Linked DNA regions of Homo sapiens: region 2 is linked to region 1. Evidence: promoter capture Hi-C in 16 types of primary human blood cells and fetal thymus (Javierre and others, 2016). All regions are on one chromosome and are shown on one strand. Each heading gives the region's core, a stretch centred on a gene start or on the middle of the fragment in contact. The rest is flanking DNA. Distances are from core to core; before and after follow the strand shown. Region 1 holds the start of TAB3-AS1 (TAB3 antisense RNA 1). Region 2 has its middle 43 kb from the start of TASL.

Region 1 (4,669 bases), core at 2,039-4,538:
GAGCTGGAAGAACTGGATATCCATGTGGAAGAAACACACAGTCTGATCTCTACCTACCTCACATCATACACAAAAATTTGAGATAGCTCATACACCTAAGTATAAAAGTTAAACTATAAAGCTTCCAGAACAGAATATCTTTGCAATTTAGGTATAAAAGTTTTTGGACAGGTCACAGGAAGCAATAAAAAGAAAAACAATTGATAAATTAGTCTTCATTAAAGTTTTACACTTCTGCTCATCAAGTGACACTATTAAGAAAATGAAAAGGCAAACCACAGACCAGGAGAAAATATTTGTAAAATATGTATCTGATGAAGGATGGTATCCAGAGTATATAAAGAATTTCTACAACACAGTAATAAAAAGACAACTCAATAAAAAAGGGTAAAACACTTGAACAGACACTTGACAAAGGAATATATATATGAAAGACCATGAAAAAAGAAATATCAAGGAATTTTCCTGGGGTAATCAGATGGATCTGCTGCCAGGATCCTGTATAGTCAGATTGTGGTTTTCTAGCAATGGTGATGTTCGTGTTAATATGTCATTCTGAGGCCAGCCTTGTGGCTCATGCTTATAATCTCAGCACTTTGGGAGGCCTGGGAGGGAGGGAGGATCACTTGAGGTCTGGAGTTTGAGACCAGCCTGTCCAACAGGGTGAAACTCCGTGTCTACTAAAGATACCAAAATTAGCTGGGCATGGTGGCGTGGACCTGTAATCCTAGCTACTTGGGAGGCTGCGGCAGAAGAATCACTTGAACCTGGGAGGTGGAGGTTGCAGTGAGCCGAGATCGCACCACTGCACTCCAACGTGGGTGACAGAGCAAGATGCTGTCTCCAAAAAAAAAAAAAAAAAAAAAAAAGATGTCATTTTGCCTTCTGTCTTTGGGACCAACACCATGTATTCGAGGTGGGAGGTTCCTGTTTGGTATCCTCCTTGGCTGGGCATTGAATAAGGCTTGCATTAATATTCCATGATGTGGTCCCATTAATATCAAGCTTCATCTAGCGCTCTACAAGTACCTTTACACTAAAAAGACTTTGTTTGTTTGTTTTTGTTTTGAGACAGGGTCCCGCTCTGTCGCCCAGGCTGGAGTGCAGTGGCATGATCATAGCTCATTGCAGCCTCGACCTCCCAGGCTCAAGCCATCCTCCTGCCTCAGCCACCTGAGTAGCTGGGACTACAGACGCACACCACCACGCCCGGCTAATTTGTGTATTTTTTGTGGAGACAGGGTTTCGCCATGTTGCCCGGGCTGGTCTCAAACTCCTGGGCTGAAGCGATCCTGCTGCCTTGGCCTCCCAAAGTGCTGCGATTACAGGCATAAGTCACTGTTCCTGGTCTGAAAGACTCTTTTCTATGACTCATTTAACTCAAACACAATTTGCAAAAACTGATAGTCCCTTAGAGTTAGTTATAATGGGATTTCGGTTAAAATTTCTTAAATATGTATTGAATGCTCAATGCGTAGCTCAATTATGTAGATAGATGCTTGCTGTTACACAGGGAAAACATGACTCCTACCCCAAGCAGTTTAATATTCTACATATGTACACTTCTAATAAAAAAGAGACTAGGAAGCCATCTCAGTCATCTTCACTATAAATGAATTTCTATTTTAGAAATTTAGTAGTTGTAATTCTATAATAATATATATTATTGGTGAAAGTATAAATGGTTCTATTATATGCCAAATTGTCTTTAACCCGTTTTTTATCTTCTTCTGTTAAAACTTAGAAACAGTAGAACTTGATTAAATTCTATAATTTTTTGGTAAGCCTTTCATCACAAATTTATAAAAGCTATTCAGTTTTCTCCATAAAATCAAGTTTGTTTTCCATTAAGCACTTGCAGATTCTCATATTGTATTTGAAACTAAATCGGCGTTTTCTAAAAGTACATATAGTTTAGCACAGATTGGCCTGCTATTGCAGGCCACTCAAATACAAAAAGAAAAAAGATAAACCAGTAAAACACAAATTACTGGTAGAATAGGTTTATTGGTTCGAATAAATAAATGTCTTGGAGTTATTACAGATATATACCAGAAATCCAAGTGTAATTAATATAGTTTATCTGAATTCTAAGTGTGATAATTAAAGAATGTGAGGGAGACAGAAGGAAAGAGAGAGAAAGAGACAGAGAAACAAACCTTTTTTGGATTGGACTTTGTAGTTAAGCAATACAGTGTGTACGTGCTCTTCAGCGGGCTTAGAATGTCTCCCAACCCTTATTAGTAACTCATAACAGTGGTAGATTGGACTTTGTAGTTAAACAATACAGTGTGTATGTGTGCTCTTCAGTGGGCTTAGACAGCTTCCCCAACCTTCATCAGTAAGCAAGCAAGCACACTGACCTTGGTGTCCCACGATCTGAGCACTGGTCCTGGTCATCTTGGCCACCTGACCTTGTTCAAACTCAATCTGAGCACCATAGAGGGACAATCCAGCCAAATACTCCAAAGGTTGTAAGAGTTAGTGAGATAAGGTATGTGACTCGACAGAAGTACTTTGCAAATCTAAGAAACAGAACTTTACCTTATTCTTTGGAGCCTTAAGGAGACATTCACTCTGCTTTTGTTTACTCAGACAATGGAGTATTTAAGTACCTGAGCACCATGCTTTGGATTCTGGAGCAGTGATTTCCAAAGATGAGTTGTACTGTGGGCTCAGAATTCATTAGAAAATGCAAGATCTTTCTTTGGTTCCTAAGGGCAAATAATATAAAGGCTGCCATTTTTCATTTTTAATCCAAAGGGTTGCTTACTAATAAACTATAAATTTATAGAAACAATTTTCTAGCAAGATATTAGGATGCCTACAGTTCTTGTCTGTGTTGCAAAGTGTCTGCTGGGCTTCTGCACACATAGGTAATTGGAATTCAGGAAATGATTTGGGAGCACGTGGTTGTCAGTATATACTATTATATCGAGTTGGTTCTGATTTTTCAAGTACTGCTATTTTTAAAAAATCCACCAGACACAGTGGCTCCTGCCTGTAATACCAACACTTTGGGAGGCTGAGGTGGGAGGATCACTTGAGGCCAGGAGTTTGAGACCAGCCTGGGCAACATAGCGAGAGACCCTGTCTCTACAAAAAATAAAATTTAAAAAATTAGCTGGGCGTGGTAGTGGCATGCACCTGTAGTCTTGGATACTTGGGAGGCTGAGGCAGGAGGATCACTTGAGCCCAGGAGATCAAGGCTGCAGTGAGCCATTATTGTGCCACTGTACTCCAGCCTGGACAGCAGAACAAGACCCTGTCTCAAAAAAAACAAAAACAAAACAAAAAAAATCCTGTCATTTTCATCACATTTCATCATTGTAATAGCCTTACTGTATGGATAGTGCCCATAATTTTAAAATAATTTTTAAATAATTATTGCTTAATCAGATAATTGCTAAAGTAAAATTTCCCAAATTTTGCTTTCACATCGACATTTATTTGCTATCACTGAGTTTGTACCCCTAATCCATTAAAAAGTAGAAAACAGTGAAATAGGGCATTTGTTCTAAGTAATGGGAGAAGATGTAACTGGAGAAGATGGAAAAAAGTTGTAAGAACCACTGCTCTGTATAGGTTGTAAAAGCAGTATTAAATATGGTGCCTGCCCTTGCTAAAGGTAACATGAAGTAATAGGTAGGGTAAATGCACTCAGCTGTGTGGGTTGCTTGAAAGATCTTGTGAGCCTGTTCACTCTTGCAGTTGAAAGACTGGATCACTTCTTTCTGGCGTTGTTTATTTTTATGCAGACTCCTCAGACCCCTGCACAATTGAGAGAAAAGCCCGAAGAATTAGCGTGACCTCCAAAGTACAGGCAGACATCCATGACACCCAGGCAGCAGCTGCAGATGGTTTGTACTTGTGTGTCCAGAGTTTGTGCAGAATGTCCAAAGACACATGTTAATCCATGTAGAATTATAAGTAAAACCATACCTTTATTTTTTGCTTTAAAAACATTACCGAGTTTCTAAGGCTGTGCTGTCCAGTAGAAATATAATGCAAGCCACATATACAATTTAAAATTTTCTAGTAGCAAAGATGAAATTAATTTTTTTTTTTTTTTTTTTTTTTGAGACGGAGTCTCGCTCTTTAGGCCAGGCTGGAGTGCAGTGGCGCTATCCCGGCTCACTGCAAGCTCCGCCTCCTGGGTTCACACCATTCTCCTGCCTCAGCCTCCTGTGTAGCTGGGACTACAGGTGCCTGCCACCACGCCCGGCTAATTTTTTGTGTTTTTAGTAGAGACGGGGTTTCACTGTGTTAGCCAGGATGGTATCGATCTCCTGACCTCGTGATCCACCCGCCTCAGCCTCCCAAAGTGCTGGGATTACAGGCGTGAGCCACCGTGCCTGGCCAAATTTTAATATATTTTTATATAATTCAGTATATACAAAATATTATTTCAATATGAAATCAATATAAAATTATCAGTGAGATGTTTTACATCCTTTTTATACTAAGTCTTTGAAATGTGGTGTATATTTTACACTTATAGCAACATTGAGTTTTTAGAGCATGTCTATTAAAAACCAGCAACAGTAAGATACGAATTTTTTTTTAAGTGTTACGTTTTTGGGCATATTGTTCTTTTAAAAGGTAAAGACAAAAGAGGTCCTTTTCTGAAAATGGCATAGTAGGCCGGGTGCGGTGGCTCACACCTGTA
Region 2 (4,742 bases), core at 899-3,398, 300 kb after region 1:
CTGCAAACAAGTATAGTTTGACTTCCTTCCTTCCTATTTGGATGCCTTTTATTTCCTTCTCTTGCCTCATTGTTCTGGCTAGGACTTCCAAAATTATGTTGAATAGGAGTGGTTAAAGAGGGCATCCTTGTCTTATTCCAGTTTCCAAGGGGAATGCTTCCAACTTTTGCCAATTCAGTATGATGTTGGCTGTGCGTTTATCATAGGTGGCTCTTATTATTTTGAAGTATGTTCCTTCAATGCCTGGTTTGTTAAGGGTTTTTAATATACAGAGATGTTGAATTTTACCAAAAGCCTTTTCTGCATCTATTGAGATAATCATGTGTTTTTCAGTTCTGTTTATGTGATGAATCACATTTATTGATTTGCATATGTTGAACCAACCTTGTGCCCCAGGGATGAAGCCTACTTAATCGTGGTGGATTAGCTTTTTGATGTGCAGCTGGATTTGGCTTGCTAGTATTTTGTTGAGGATTTTTGCAAACGCTATTTTTTTAAGTCTATATTAATGAGCAAAATAGGTTTGTTATGCTCCTTTTTTGTACTGCTTTTATGCATTTTTGATCTCAGATATATGCAGGATTAATAGATGAGTTAGGGAAGGAATCCCTTTTTTTCTTTTTATATTCTCTGAAAGCATTTGAATGAGATTAAGATTATCTGTTTTGAGATTGGTATTTGCTTTAAAAGAGATTTGAAATTATTGCTTTAATTTATTTAATATTAACAGGACCATTGAAGCTTATAATGTGTTTCTCAAATCAGTTCTGCTAATTATATTTTTCTAGAAATTTGTCCATTTTGCCTAATGCATTAAAGTTGATGTGTGCTTATTATCTTTTTATTCTCTGCTTTATCTAAGTTTGGTTATTTTTCATTTATCATTTTTACTTTGGTGCCTCCTCTCTTTCTCTTTCTCTGCCTTCTTTTCTTTATGAATCTTGCTGAAAGTATACTTATTTTGTAATTTTTTCCCAAAAGCCCAATTTTTGTCTTTGTTGCATTTTTGCACGTCACTCCTATTTCATTGATTTACACTCTTTTTATTATTCGTCTGCTTTTTTTATGTTTAGTCTAATATTCTCTTTCAGATGTCTAATTACTTCATAGCTTTTCCCCCTAAAATAAGTATTTAAGGCTATAACACTTCCTTCAAAGCACTGCTTTTCCTATGTGCCTTAAGTTTTGATATACAGTATTTTTATTATAATTTTCTTTTAAACATATCACAATTTTCATTATGAGTTACTTATCAGTGTGTTTTTAAAATTTCTGAAAACATGGATATCAACCCATCATGAAGGATCTGAGATTTTACCCTACTTAGAAGATAACAAGTTAATATTGATGAACAGATTTGAGACTGCTAGGTCAGTGACAAAGGACCTTATAAAACACAGCATTAGCAGTGGTCAGTGTATCAGCATTTTCATGTGCTGAGTCCTCAAACCCCAATTTCACCAGGGTGATGAAGAGAGCCAGGTGACATGTGCATTTACAGCGAGTTGTGTTACAGGAAAGAATTCAGAGCTTAAGAAACTCAGATCTTTTATACTGTACAGTAAGCATGCTTGCCCTTTGCTCTAGAGGGAGATGCTATCTTTATCTTCCAAAGCTGTCTAGTATACAAATATCCTTGAAAAGATGGCCTGAGAAAAAGCCAGTCAGTGCCTCTGCTCATAAGACATGCAGAAATATAAGACCCATGGAAAATTGTCTTGCAGTAGTAAGTATATTTGTTATTTTTGTTGTCTTTCTAACTTAATCGAGTTGTCAGAGAAAATAATCTGCATAATACCTATGCTTTGAAATTTATTAGGGTTCATTTTGTGGCTCAGTACATTATCCAGTTTTTTTTACTGTCTCATTTACAAAATACATTTTTTAAAAGAATGCAAGTTCTCAAATTTCTGGATGCAAAGTTCTATGTAGGTCTATTAGATCACGATTTTTAATTGCATTATTTAGACTTGTTATATGCTTTCTGAATTTTATCTCCTTAAGCTATTGATAATTGGGAGAGGTATGTTGAAATCTCCCACCATGATGGCATCAATTTCTTTTTTTTTTTTTTTGCTTTTGTTGTTCTATCAATTTTATCTCTACATATTTTGAAGCTATTTTATTAGGTTCATCCATAGTTAAAAATTTCTATACTTTTTTGGCAAAATGAATGTCATTTGTACCTACCTGCTCTCACTCTAATAATGCTTTGCTTGAAAAAAAAATCTATTTTGTCTGATACTAACATATATACTGGGCTTCTCTTGTTAAGTATTTGCCTTATATGACTTCTTTTATCCTTTCACTTTCAACCTTTGCATGTCCTTGATGATTTAGGTGTGTCTTTCATAAAAAGATATATTGTATTATGTTTATTATTCTTTTTAAAAACAAGTGTTCGCTGTGTTGTAATATTTCTGCTTTAGATGAAATCTTTTCAAACACTTTTCTCTTGAAAGAATCCTCTTCTTCAGATATCTTGATGTATTGGCCTGTTGACATATTTCTTGGAATATGAGCTACTTTTTTTCATTGACGGCTATGGGGAAAGGGTCAGAGGTCAGGTCTCAATCTGCATTAGCTCAAATGAGTTTCAAGAAGTCACTGTGGGGGGAATATGCCCCTTATGATGGGGAGCCCCACATTTAATCACTCCTCTGTGGCAGCATTAACAGAGGTCTCAGGACCCACTCATGATGTTGAGAAACAGGACTCAGGGCATTCATTTTGCTTGTATGAATCATAGCAGGAATGGCACACCTCTGGAGCTCACAGCAGCAGTTTCTTGATCGTGGTGGTTTCCTGATGATGGCAATAACAACACAGTTCTGGAACCAGGAGCCTCTTGATCACATAAGAGGCAGCAGCTGCCCTGATAGCCAGGTTCCATGGTGAGTCTGTAGAAGTTGTTCCTGAAAACTCAAACTAGAGTTTTTTTCTTCAGCTCCTACCACAATTCTATAATGAATTCTGATATGGTTTGGCTCTGTGTCCCTTGAATTGTAATCTCACCTTGAATTGTAATAATCCTTACGGGTCAAGGGTGGGATCAGGTGGAGATAAATTGGATCATGGGGGTGGTTCCCCCATGCTGTTCTCTTGATAGTGAGGGAGTTCTCACAAGATCTGTTGTTTTTTATAAGGGGCTCTTCCACCTTTGCTGCTGGGCACTTCTCCTTGCCTTGTGAAGAAAGTGCCTGCTTCCCCTTCTGCCATGATTTTAAGTTTCCTGAGGCCTTCCCAACCATACAGAACTGTGAGTCAATTAAACCTCTTTTCCTTATGAATTACTCAGTCTCGGGTATTTCTTCATAGTAGCATGAGTATGGACTAATACAAATTCCTTCCTGCTTGAGCTAGCTAAAGTGCAGTCTGCCTTGTACAACTGAACCCTGACCTAGACAATATGCTAAAGGATCTAAGAAAGTTGAACTCATAAAAGTAGAGAATCAAGTGGTGGTTGCCAGATGCTGAGTAAGAGGAGTGAATGGGGAAAGGGGAAATGTTGATCAAAGGGTGACAATTTTAGTTAAACAGGACGAATAAGCTTTAGTGATCTATTGCATAGAATGGTGACTATAATAAATAATAATGCATCATATACTTCAAAATTACTAAAAGAGGAGATTTAAAATGTTTTCACAACAAAAAAGTGTGTGAAGTTACAGATTTGTTAATTAGCAAATGATTTAATCATTTTATATTGTAAATATATATCTAAACATCACATTGTACCTCATAAATGTCTAATATATACAATTTTGTCAATTAAAAATTTAAAAACAACATGCTAAAGGGAATTATAAGAATTTAAAAAATCTTCTCCCCTCAAAATCTATATCAATGTGCTTTTGTCTTTTGCATTCGTATTACAAAACTTTTGCTTTAGTTGTGGTGGTGATCAGACAAACTGAAAAGTTTTCTCAACTCAGAAATTCTGTTAGCAGTCAAAACTTCAAAATTGGCTGCTTGCACTATTTACAATAGCAATGACATGGAATGAAACTAAATGCCCATCAATGGTGAACTGGATGAACAAAATGTGTGGTACATATACACCATGGAGTAGTATGCAGCCATAAAAAAACCCAAAGTCATGTTTTTTTTGTTGGTTTTTTTTTTTTTTTTTTGCAGCAACATGGTTGCAGCTGGAGGCCATTATCCTAAGAGAATTGACACAGAAACAGAAAATCAAATACTGTATGTTCTCACTTTTGTAAGTGGAAGCTAAACATTGACAATACAAGGACATAAAGATGGAAACAATAGAGTTAGAAAAAATGAATAAGACTTACTATTTGATAACACAACAGGGCAACTATAGTCAATAATAATTGTACATTTTAAAATAACTAAGAGTATAATTGGATTATTTGTAATACAAAGAATGAATACTTAAGGTGATGGATATTACATTTGCTCTGATGTGATTATTATTCATTGCATGCCTTTATCAAAATATCTCATGTAACCTGTAAATATATACACCTACTATGTACTCACAAAAATTAAAAATAAAATTTTTTTTAAAAGATGGAAACAATAGACAGTGGGTACTATTAGAGGAGGGAGGGCGTAAGGGAAGCAAATGTTGAAAAACTACCTATTGGGTGCTATGCCCACTACCTGGGTGATGGGATCATTTGTATCTCAAGACCCCAAGACACAATTTACCCATAGAACAAAGCTGTGCATGTATCCCCTGACCTAAAATAAAAGTTGATAAATGAAAAGAAAAT

What was found. Contacts are between HindIII fragments. The CHiCAGO score rates a contact against its expected background, and 5 or more counts as called.
Region 2: a fragment that was not itself captured here is called in contact with the fragment with the promoter of TAB3-AS1 in region 1 in 1 of 17 cell types (neutrophils); the score reaches 5.8 in neutrophils.

The regions. Positions count from the first base shown.
Region 1 is chrX:30,833,242-30,837,910 of GRCh38, reverse strand. It overlaps TAB3-AS1 (TAB3 antisense RNA 1), which reads right to left and starts at 3,288. Exons shown (of 3, transcript NR_145449.1): 1 at 3,148-3,288; 2 at 2,616-2,714. TAB3 (TGF-beta activated kinase 1 (MAP3K7) binding protein 3) reads left to right here. Exons shown (of 11, transcript NM_152787.5): 10 at 3,759-3,860. The HindIII fragment of the contact is 4,366 bases long and covers 1,008-4,669 here.
Region 2 is chrX:30,532,085-30,536,826 of GRCh38, reverse strand. No RefSeq gene overlaps it. Among named protein-coding and RNA genes, the nearest start is that of TASL, 43 kb to the left of the region's middle. The HindIII fragment of the contact is 2,809 bases long and covers 744-3,552 here.